Linked DNA regions of Homo sapiens: all the other regions are linked to region 1. Evidence: promoter capture Hi-C in 16 types of primary human blood cells and fetal thymus (Javierre and others, 2016). All regions are on one chromosome and are shown on one strand. Each heading gives the region's core, a stretch centred on a gene start or on the middle of the fragment in contact. The rest is flanking DNA. Distances are from core to core; before and after follow the strand shown. Region 1 holds the start of RLIG1 (RNA 5'-phosphate and 3'-OH ligase 1). Region 2 has its middle 120 kb from the start of DUSP6. Region 3 has its middle 26 kb from the start of LINC02458.

Evidence for each region. The method cuts DNA at HindIII sites, captures the fragments that hold promoters and counts their contacts. A CHiCAGO score of 5 or more calls a contact.
Region 2: a fragment that was not itself captured here is called in contact with the fragment with the promoter of RLIG1 in region 1 in 1 of 17 cell types (non-activated CD4 T cells); the score reaches 5.6 in non-activated CD4 T cells.
Region 3: a fragment that was not itself captured here is called in contact with the fragment with the promoter of RLIG1 in region 1 in 1 of 17 cell types (activated CD4 T cells); the score reaches 6.8 in activated CD4 T cells.

Annotation. Positions count from the first base shown.
Region 1 is chr12:88,033,735-88,037,639 of GRCh38, reverse strand. It overlaps RLIG1 (RNA 5'-phosphate and 3'-OH ligase 1), which reads right to left and starts at 2,104. Exons shown (of 7, transcript NM_001009894.3): 1 at 1,902-2,104. The coding sequence starts at 1,991. It overlaps LOC107984542 (a long non-coding RNA gene), which reads left to right and starts at 2,144. Exons shown (of 3, transcript XR_007063395.1): 1 at 2,144-2,226; 2 at 3,293-3,905. The HindIII fragment of the contact is 2,128 bases long and covers 1,550-3,677 here.
Region 2 is chr12:89,232,099-89,236,003 of GRCh38, reverse strand. No RefSeq gene overlaps it. Among named protein-coding and RNA genes, the nearest start is that of DUSP6, 120 kb to the left of the region's middle. The HindIII fragment of the contact is 5,220 bases long and covers 1-3,905 here.
Region 3 is chr12:89,043,916-89,047,820 of GRCh38, reverse strand. No RefSeq gene overlaps it. Among named protein-coding and RNA genes, the nearest start is that of LINC02458, 26 kb to the right of the region's middle. The HindIII fragment of the contact is 845 bases long and covers 1,506-2,350 here.

The DNA.
Region 1 (3,905 bases), core at 855-3,354:
AACTGGTTTTCACTAACTTATGATGCTGGTTTCAAAGGATATCAATTTAACCCAGGGTGGTAGAGCCACAGGGTCTGGTCCAATAGCAGTGTGTGTGTATCTAAATTTATCAAAGATCCTATGTGGGGGGGAAGATTACTCTGCCCCATGGAGCTCCTGATGAGTATAAACATTCCTTCCATAAAAATCAATCATCTGCTCTTTGCTATCGACATATCCAAAGGACAACACGAGACACTGAGGGGTACACAAAGTTCTCCTTCTCCACCTGTCATAAAAGGCTTTAGACTATTACCGGAAAAACAAGGTACGTGTATTAAAATAGTGAATATCAATTGAGTGGCCCTCTACAATTTCTGGGTAGGGGAAATCACTGAAATGGCTAAATTGATAAGATTTTATGGAGAAGAACTGACTTGAAAAATTAAAAACACTCTAGAGGTGATCCAGAGTGAACAGTCTGAGCAAAAATATGAGACAGGATTGTGGTTGATATGTTCACAGGATGAAATAGATGGTTAAAACAGAATCCACTTTAAGGACGATGGAAGGTAGATTGAGCCTCATTAGTGGGAGGCCCTGAATTATAATTAAGAATGTGGATGCTATGCTATAAACGATACTGTAAGCTGTTCTTAACTGCAGAGAGGTAAGAGAAGGGGCTGCTTATTTTCCCTGGTGGAGAATACTTTCACAAACTACTCCCCTCAAACATACGAAGTTGAAAATCACAGTAGAGTGAAATACTAAAACAGATGATAATGTTTCATATGGATTACATTTGTTACAGCTAAAAAAAAAAGCCAATTACTGCTACAAACATTGAGTAATAACTGTGGTATTCTGACGAGGAAAGAACATGGTGATGATCAGTCTGAGTGGCAAGTAAGACCAGTTAGGTGGTGCAATGAGCAGGACATGAAATATTAACTGTAACAGCTGTGACAGCACTAGAAAGCAGGAAAAGATCAGATGCTATAAGGTAAAAAGCATCAAGGTGAATGGAAAACTGGCATGAAATGATTCCAGGGTTCATTCTTTAATTCAACAAATATTTATCCAGTGCCTACCACGTGCCAGGTCCTAGAAGCTGGGACTAAAGATAACAGGGCAATCTTTGCCTTAAACAAGTTTTAGTCCAGAAGACGAGAAAGCCAGTGCCAATGATGAAACTCAAGTGAGGTGGATTTCCAATGGACATGTTGGTTTTGTTTGAAATCAGCAAAGTTGGGAAGCACCCAACTAATCACTGGGGATTCTACTGATCAAAGACTACAACGTTTTATAGTACAATATGAAAAAATTACCCAAATATAGGTTACTCACTAGCATTTACCGAGGGCACACTATGGAAAACACGTTGCTGCAACAGAAAACCTTGAGAACACCAAAGTTAGAATAAATTAAGTAATTACTGGTAATATGAGGTGTGAACTTCAGTGACCTAATTAGGCTACTGTCAACACCGCCACTGGTTCGGACAGAACAGGTAAAGCAAGTCTTCTAATATCCACCCTTTCTTACTGCACTCTTGAAAAGTAGTAAAGCTTGGACTGTGGCAATTACCTGATTAGGGGGTTTCCCCAAAAGGTGCTGACCTGAAAAGGAAGGGACATGCTGTGGATGTGAGTTATCCATTTCCTTGCGAGGACAAGTTTGAATCTCCTGATAAGGAAAATTCTTTCGCAAATTCCCTCCCTCACAACTAAGAAAAGTACAAGAACCTGGAGCTCAGGGCGTACGGAACTCCCACCCCAGACCTCCCCAGGGAAACCTACAGAGGTTCCTGGCCTGCAGGGCAGTTCTAAAGCGCCCAGCCGCCCTCGCCGGGTTCGCACTGAGCCAGCGCCGCGGGGAGGAGCCCACGCGGGCCGCCAAGCCTGCCCGGCGCTCCTCCGTACCTGATGCTCCCTTTTGGAGGAAGGCTCCTCTTTCACCTCCGTCACAAACACACACGGCATTTTCCGCTGCACGGAGCCCAAGCGCTTCATGATGAGCCCAACAAGCAGTGCGAATGGAGGGCGTGCTTTCGAGCGGCGCCCGGTCCAGTCGCGGAGAAGCCCTGAAGCAGTCACCCGCACGGCTCAGGCCACGCACACTCCGCGCCCAGCCACCGCGGCTGCGCCCCAACTACCAAGCCCAGCGAGGGGCGGGAACGCCCGTCCAGAAGCGGCTTCCTGGCCGCGGCGCCTTCTGGGAGTTGTAGTGCAGAAGCTGAGGCGCCTGGTGGGTTCCCACGTGCGTCCTCCGCCCCCCACCCTCGGTTTTAATAACCGTGAAAAAAAAAAAAAAAAGATGCGTTTCCCGAACGTGGGTACTTAGCAATACCTAGTAACTAATGATTTTTTGGGAAATTAAATAAGATCAAATTATAAGCAATGAACATTTCAGATGTCGATTTAACACAGTTCCAATGGAAACTGCTTGCCTGTTATCTTTAGTTCGTGGGGGAAGCACTGTAGAAGTTTAGAAATGGCTAGAGACATCCCCAGATTCCCAAGCAGAATGAAAACTTCCTTTCCGGTAAGACTATCAGAAAACCCTATAATAAAACACCTGGGATCAAAAAAAGTTGTCGTTTGAACTACTCCTTATTGTGCAGCATAGCATGGTCGAAATGATTCTGATGTTCTTTTCGGAGTGAGTGCGAAATTTCAGCCTTAGACTAATCCAAAAGTACAGGAATACCTACAACCAGATTTCATTCTCAAGTTTTTCATAAGAATCTTGTTTAATTAAAGGTGAGCTCCAACAGCCCAAATGGCTTGAGTAATGGTAGTCAATCAACTGCGAGCTAAAAACAGCCTTAACTTACTGCTCAAAAGAATATTTTGAGGGTAAGTGATAAGATGGACAATGACTAAATAAAATAAATACTAAATATTTAGGAATAGTAGCCTTTCCATCTCATTGAATGTAGTAGTTCCTAGCCTGAAGTTGTAGGGGAATTTTGACTTTACTGCCATCCTTTATGGGCTTGGACTAGGCCCAGGTCTCATTTCTTTGTCTTATCTGCATGTACTCAACTGTCCAGCATGTTACTGACTTAGCCCTTGGAAAAATTAAACAACTATATCTCACTTAGAGGTATCTAACTAGTAAGGGGGTTCTCAAAGAATAAAACATCTTCCTTTAAAAAGTTCACAGTTATATTGAATACTGACAGTGAAAAAAAATAAAATTTAAAAAAAGTTCACAGTTTTTTGATTACTGGATTCAGAGGGGAGGGAGGAAGAAAGAGATTTGCCATTTCAAAGTGTTTACTTTCTTTTCTACTATCTTTTTCTCACAGGAAAACACAAAATGTTCTCCCACATCACACCCCGCCTGCATTTATCAAAAAAGAAAACACCTGATGCTGGCTGTGTGCTGTTGGAACCAGAAACTTTTTAGCATATTATAGTCGAGTGCCAGTGACTTCTTTGTTCTTTCAGAGGCATTCTAAAAAGCGGCGTGTTTCACGAATCTCAGAGACAACAACTTTCACAACTATCAACTGTCACCTCCCAAACTGCCACAGAACCTTTTAAGTCCAACATTCTGTCATTTGTGGGAAATACTCATCTTCTAAAACACACTCTACTTATTCTTTGAATAGTAGTTGCAAAGCTAGTCATCTCTCAGGAAGCACTTTCTATTTCCAAAACTTTGGTTTCATCAGTACCTGGAGCAAAGCTTCTGGCAGAAACACAAATCCTCATCAGGGGAGAGGCACAGGATCAACTCACGGTTATAAACTGGACTCCTGCTCTGACGGGTAGCAGCCATCAACTTTGCCCGATTCTCATAATTCTGAAGGGTCACCAAGGAGTTGCTACCAGCCACTGTACTTAAAGTGGTGTCACAGGATTACAAAATAGAAGAAAGTCTTTCTTCTCTGACTAATATGTTAGTGCTCTAGTAAG
Region 2 (3,905 bases), core at 809-3,308, 1.2 Mb before region 1:
AGCTCATAACCTAGTGGCATGACAGTGACATAAACCGAGTTACAATTCCCCTGGATAAGCACAGTAATAGACCTAAGCACACTTGACACCAGCTCTGCAGTATGGAGGAAGGAGAGGAGGAGGGGTAGGCAGAGGTCAGAGGAGGCTTCCTGAAGAAGGAAACCTCCCTTCCTGTACTTTAGAGATCTCCCGGTGTTGATTATCTTTTTGCTTTCTCTTATCTTAAACCTCTTCCTCTTTACTGTGTCGTTCCCACCAACCTTTAAATTTGTTCAATTCTCCACTATCTTGAGAAAAATCCCTCTTCTTAGTCCAGCATCCCTCCAGCTACCTCCCTCATCTACTTCTTTTTTTTATCCTTTCTCTCTTGCCTTTCAGTCCCAAGTCCACTAAAATCTGGCCCTCATCTTGACCTCTCCCTCAAATTGCTCTCAACCCAGGTCAATAATGGCATCTTGGTTGTTAAATACAACGGAAACTTTCTAGCCTTTTCCTTATTTGTCTTCTTGGTTGCATTTGCCACTGTTGACACTTTCTGTAAGCTCAGCTTCCTCCCTTGGTTCCTCTGACTCCCCTAATTTTCTGGTTCTCCCTCTCCTTCCTTGCCTCTGCCTTCTCATTGTTTTGCAGGCTCTTCCTTTACAGCTCATCATTTAAGGATTGGTAAATGTTGGAATTGCCCAGAGATCTCTTGTAACTCTGTGTTTTCTTCCTGAGAAAGCCTGTCTATTATGATTGTAATACCGTTTTTATCCTGATGATTTCCACATAATTTTCTTCAGCCAAGATCAATCTTCTGAGCATCAGACTTTATTCCTGCATTCATCCACTCAATAAATATTTACTGGTGCTCACTATGTGCCGAATACTGTTTTAGAGATGGAGATTCAGTAGTGAATAAAGTCCTTGCCCTTGCTGGAACTTACATTCTTCTAAAGCAGAAACATGCACACACACACACACACACACATATTCTGTGAGGTGGTGAAAAGTGCTATGAGAAAAATAAAGCAAATGAGGGAGTGCTGGGGTGTGGGAGAAAGATTTTTCTCTTTATAAAGTGTGGTCGGTAAGTCCCCTTTAATCAGGTGACGTTTAAGCAGAGACCTGAACGAAGCCAAGAAGGGAGGGAGCCAGGCAGATATCTGGGGGAAGAGCTCAGCTGTCAGAGAAAAGAGCTAATGTGAATGGTCATCACCATCATTCTCCTCTGTCCTCACTGAGGCTGAGTAAGAAGTCCCATATGATGAGAATCTTCTACCTTGGGCCAAGAGGTGGATAATTAGGGGAAGAAGTGACTGGTGCCATTTCTAAATTCTCCCTTCTTGCTCCTACACTCAACAAATGGGCTTCTTTTCTTGCTTAATGTAGTTGAATCATACAGGTGGGCTAGAAAGAATTGAAATAGTCTCTGTAAATTACTGGCTATCCCAGAAGCCATGTGGCAACAATTATCTTCCCCCACAAAACCGCTTCTCCACCCATGTTCTCATTGTCAGTGACAGACACTGGCATCCACCCTGTTGCCCAAGCTAGAAACATGGACATCACCCTCCCTCATCCTTAACATCTGATTCATCACCAAGTTCTTGTAGGTGGCATTCTCTCTCAAATCTGTCCATCTCTTTCAATCTCTGTTGCCCCTATATAAAACCAGTCACTCTCCTCTCTGCTTTGGATGACTGCCCCAGACCTCTCTGTTGGTTTCTTCTCTTCTTGTCAGTCCCTCCTCCAATCTATTATCTGCAGGCCAGTTAGGGGAGCTGTCTCTAAAACAGAAATCTAACCTTAAACTTTTCACTGGCTCCACGTTGCCCAAGGGAAAGCTCCTGTACTGCCTCCAACACTCCATACCCCAGTCAGGTTGAGCTGTTTTGACTCTCTTAAAAAATCTATGTTCGGCCGGGCACGGTGGCTCACACCTGTAATCCCAGCACTTTGGGAGGCCAAGGCAGGCGGATCACGAGGTCAGGAGATGGAGACCATCCTGCCTAACACGGTGAAACCCCGTCTCTACTAAAAATACAAAAAATTAGCCAGTTGTGGTGGCGGGCACCTGTAGTCCCAGCTACTCAGGAGGCTGAGGCAGGAGAATGGCGTGAACCCGGGAGAGCGGAGCTTGCAGTGAGCCGAGATTGCACCACTGCACTCCAGCCTGGGCAACAGAGCAAGACTCTGTCTCAAAACAAAAACAAAACAAAAACAAAAGACTATGTTCTGGCCAGGTGCGGTGGCTCACACCTGTAATCCCAGCACTTTGGGAGGCCGAGGCGGATCTCATGAGGTCAGGAGTTTGAGATCAGCCTGGCCAACATGGTGAAACCCCCTCTCTACTACAAAAATACAAAAATTAGCTGGACGTGGTGGTAGGTGTCTGTAATCCCAGCTACTCGGGAGGCTGAGGCAGGAGAATTGTTTGAACCCGGGAGGTGGAGGTTGCAGTGAGCTGAGATCACGCCACTGCACTCCAGCCTGGGTGACAGAGTGACATTCTGTCTCAAAACAAAAACAAAAACAAAAACCTATGTTCTTTCTGATACAGAATGTTTTTATGTATTATGATGCTATTCCCTTGTCTGGAAACTTCCCTTCTCCTCCCATTTACTTGACCATTCCTACTCATGCTTTGGGTCTTGGTTTAGATGTCACTTCTTCCAGAAAATATCTGACTTTGGCTAAGTTCCTTGTTGTAGGTGCTCCAGGTCCCCTCTAGTCACTGTACTTTTCACTGGACTGTGATCATTTGTTGAATTACCTATGCTCCAAACTACAGTGCATGCTCTCTGAAAGCAGAGACTGGGGTATGTATCACTACACCCTAGTCTCTGGCACAGAGTGGATGTTTGACGGTTATTTTTTTGGATAAATGAATGAGTAAATGAAGTGACACTTGAGCAAAATTAAAGAACGAATAGGAGTTACCTGGATAAAGAGGTAGTGAGAACACAGAGGGTGTCCCCGTGGAGAGCACAGCTTGAATAAAGGCACAGAGGTGAGAAATATCATGGTGAATGAGGGAAACTATATGCAGTTTGGTGTTTCTGAGGCATAAAGCATGAATATGGAATTGGCAAGAGGCTCGAGAGACCAGTCAAACCATGGAGGGTTTGTGGGTCAGGTTAAGTTATTTAAACTTGATCTTGTAGGCAATGAGGAGCTTACAAAATATGCTTTAGATGTTTAATACAGACAGTTCTATGAAGATTGAATTTGAAGGCAGCAAGAATAGAGACTAGAAAGAGTTGTTAGGAGGTTGCCACAATTCTTCCTAGCTCTGCCTTACAATATGATTTAAGTTTTTTCATCCTGACCCTCAGTATTAAAATTTTATTGTCACTAGAATCCTAAGACAGCCCCCATAATCTATGCTCTTGGGTGTTACTCCATGATTATGTTATATGGCAAGAGAGATTTTTGCAGATGAAATTAAGTTTATTAATCAATTTGCTTTAAAATGAGGAGATTATCTAGGCTGGACTAACCTGAGCACATGACCTCTTTAAAAGCACAGTTTTCTTCTTGATGATCGCAGAAGTTGGAGAGAATTGAAGCATTAGAGGGATTCAGTATGAAAGAAATTCTCTTTTGTGGACTTTGAAGGTGGAGGAATTCACATGGGAAAGGACTGAGAGTGGTATCTAAGAGCTGAGAGAGGCCCCTTTGGGGCCAGCCAGCAAAGAAACAGGGACCTCAGTACTACAATCACAAGGAAATGAATTCAGCCAATAACCACATGAGTATGGAAGCAGGTCACTTCTCAGAGTCTTTAGGTAATAACTCAACCCTGTTGACATTTTGATTTCTGCTGGTGATGCCCTGAGAAGAGAACCCAGTCTTGCCATGGTAGACTTCTGACTGCATAACTGTGAGCTAATCAATGGGTGTTGTTTAAACAATAAGTTTGT
Region 3 (3,905 bases), core at 679-3,178, 1.0 Mb before region 1:
AAAATGTTGGTTGGTCCACGCTTTTCATGGAATGTCATGGTTAACTGATAAGCTGCCCCCAAACTCGGTATCCTGGTTTAATGTTATAATCATAATGCCCTCTGAGATCACTTAGAGAAAAGCTGAGGGTAGCAACTCTGTGGATTCTTATTTACCTTATGCGTTTGACATCTGCAATGATGTGCTTCTTTACCACCTCCCTCATCAAATTAAACTAAGAATGAAAACAGATGGGCTGGGAAGCCAGTGGATCAAAAGAAGGACCTGGGGGAAGCTCAGCTTGGGGACCGGCTTGCTCTTTGCCCTCACTATTTGTCAACTGGGAATCTCCTGGGTGCTCAGCTGTGCTGGAATCTCAGGTAAGGCAAAGACTTTGTCAGTTTCTATCAGGCCCAAGTGCTTAACAAGATCTTAAGTCTACATATGGAGTTGCTGCTAGGTCTCCTAAAGCAGGTGATGTGTTCAGAATTACAGGCTGTATAAATGTCACAGAGTCAGTCGGGAGAGTACCCATTTGTGAGGAGAGGTGAGCAGTTGAAAACTCCTTTATATTTTAGTTAGTTGACCCCACTTACTTCATCTGGGTAGAGTGTAATGAAGCTGATTACTGGGTCCCTTTAAAATTATTGATTAAAATTTAAGGTAATCTATCTAAACTATACATTCCTGATTATTGATAGAACTCTAAGCAGTTTAATTCACTTGTTACTCACGCCTAGATTGGAATTTGTAAAGTGGCTAGTGTCCAGATACTTGTCCTAGAGGTCACTTAGGCTCTAATTGATTTTCCTGAAAGCTTTGAAACTATCTGCCATTTTAACTCTCAAACTTTTTTTGACAGTCATCTCCCGGTTGGCTCTCTCATTTGAGTGTGTTTTCATTGCATGTTATTATTTCTTTGTTTTATTATCCAAGTTCATATGAAAATGAACCCAAAGTATTATATTTTAGCTGCCCATTCCCATTATGGGATGTCTAGAGTCCTGCTTTTCCTTATTATTATTTTTTTAAATTTAAAAACCCTAACACTTGCAGGCTTTAATAGTCTTTCTTCTTTGATGCATTTCAGATAAAGAAAATGGTTGTAAATTGAGAGAAATCTTTCTGATTCGTGCCTATGCATTGATCTTATCCATAAGGATCTGTCTTCAGAGGAGAAATGTATAGTCTAGACAGGAAGAGGAATAGTGGGTATAGGGAAACAACAGGCAGAGTGGAGCTCCCCCTGGCTCTGTGGATTTAACCTCTGGGAACAAACACCCACAACGGGTCCCTGCGTTTGAAAAGGATTAGTAAAGCTGAGGGGGCTAAATAAATATTCATGATCACATACAAGCAAATGATTAGAAGTCAGACAACCTGCCCCTGGTAAGAGTCTGTTATAAGCAAAATATTCTCCCTAGAAGGAAAGGAGATTGATATTAACAATTTTCATTGGTCTTGGAGAGACTGATCTTATTGTCTGTCAAATGAAGTTAGAATTAGGTTTGAAAGAGTCTTAAGCTTCTTTAATAATCTATCCTAATCACCTGTCTAATGCTATACCCCGTTACTACAGAAACATCTTTAATACCCTTTTATTTGAGGAGTCTATTCTGGGAAATATTCTGTTGATGGAGAGTTTAGGGGGATCTGATGTTGTTCAGCCAACTTAAAATCAATCTACCAAAATTAATTTGGACCACCTACTATTTGCCTGTTTTTCTAGTTGCTGAGATTATGACAGTATTAAAGGTGTAGTGGATTGCATCGCTGGCCTTGAGTCTTGATCCCATCCCTTTCCATACTTGTTGCTGGGTAACTTTGAAATTCATCTCACTAAATAGAGAGACATGTTGAGTGGCCAGCCAGTCCAGATTTACCCAAGGACTTTCCTGGTTTTACTATGGAAATTTCTGCATTCTGGAAGCCCCCCAAGTCCTGGGCAATCTGAGATGGTTGGTCACTCTTAGTGAAGTGTATTTCTATATCCCTTTGCTGTGAGATAGGTCTTGTGTTATATTTGGCCAATAGGATGAGGTAGAAATTACAGTGTGTCAGTTCTAAACCTATTCCTTAATAGACTTTGCATGTTTGCCCTATCTGTGCTTCTGCTGTCACCATAAGTACATGCTCTGATTATCACGTTGATCCAAGTAGGATGTTGGTGTGTAGAGCACAGCCAAACTCAAGACAGCAGCCCAGATAAACCCCGTTTGTACCAGCCAATCTCCAGCAAAGTTATAGTTACATGAGCAATAATAAATGGTCATTGTTTTGAACTACTGATTTTTGGCATGCTTTATTACAAACAGCAATAATCAACTTGTACAAATAAATTTTATCAGTAGCAGAAATTGGGCTGAAAGCTTTACATAGATCATTTCCTGCTACCACACTGTGAAGTAGTAATTATTATCTCTATTTTACTGTTAGTCAAATGGTTGGTACATAGGAAGATGGAATAAATATCCAAGGTAAGCAATGAAGATTATTTCAAACTCATTTCTAAAGTAATCTAATACCTTAAAGATTTTAAGCATTATCATGCAGTATAAGCTCATTATAAAAGATTTAAGCAAATCAGAAATATAAATAAGAAAAAGCAAAATGTCATTCCTTCCATTCCTGGCTCTCTTTCTCATTTCTCTAACTCTTTCTCTCTGATATAACCGCCATCAACTTTTGGTATAAATCTTTCCAGATGTTTTTCTATGCATTTTATAAACATATTTCTGTATTTAAAAATTTCATATAATTGGAAATTACATATAGTTCTGCAGTATTTTCTCTGGATATTTCATATAATTCCATGCTGATACATATAGAGGCATCCTATGCTCTTTTAACCGCTACTTATTACTTCATAAAATGACAGTACCGTAATTTGAACATTCTATTAATAATAAGCATTGCAATTGATTCCAATTTTCCCTATTCCAAATGATTCTATGAACTTTTTTTTCACATATCATTTTGCACATATGGGTATTTCTATAGAAAAAAATTCTACAGCTTAATGCCATTTTCAGCCAATTATACCTTAATGTTTAATATACCGTGTGCAAAGAATTGTAGACTAGTACTTGTGCACCATAAGCAAGTGCTCATCCGATACTGAGCTCGTATTTCAGGACCCTCCTTCCCCTGTTGGGGGCATTTTGCAGATCATTCATGACAGCCTGTAAAGTGCCTTAGTTGTAGTTGTTTGTCCTCAGGTGAAGTGCATTGTGTTGTTATCAGCTGTTGAATTTGTTGATCTTCCACTTCACATAACGTGGATGATTCTCTAGAAGCTATACCCACCGTCCTGAAAGACCCCATTAACTGCAGATGCTTGCTGCTTAAGCAACAAATCAGTGAATTTCTTCAATGGAAACTTTTGTCTAATTAGAGAGTAAATCATGGTATGTACTTTGGGTACACTTTGAAGTGGACTTGGCCACTGTTTCAGTTTAGACTGTTAATAATGGTTCTTATCAAAAGAGACATGAAAGCTGCTGTCTAATAGAGGTTCCCCTGGCTGGAAGGAAAAACTGGAGGAAGAGAGAAAGAAAAAAAAATATGAGGAGAGAAAGAGATGGGTACTTCTTACAGGTCAGGGATTTATTCTTTGATTCAGAGTTATTGAAAACCATTCACTTGTCATATACAATGCTAATCTTGGGAAAGTTAGAAATAAAAGAAGCAGTCTCTGCCCTCAAGTGGCCTGTGGTACATTGAGGGAGACACCTATGGAAGCTGACAATCACTATGAAAGAATACACGTAACAACAGAAGCACATAGAAAGGGTGCAAATCCTTCTCCTGTAGATTCTGGGTAGACATCTAAGGGCAACTGGTTCACAGGCTGAGTTGAAGTGGGAGTCCCTGAGCTCCCTTCCCATTGAATATATTCTTCCTAGAGTATATGATTACTCTGTCTC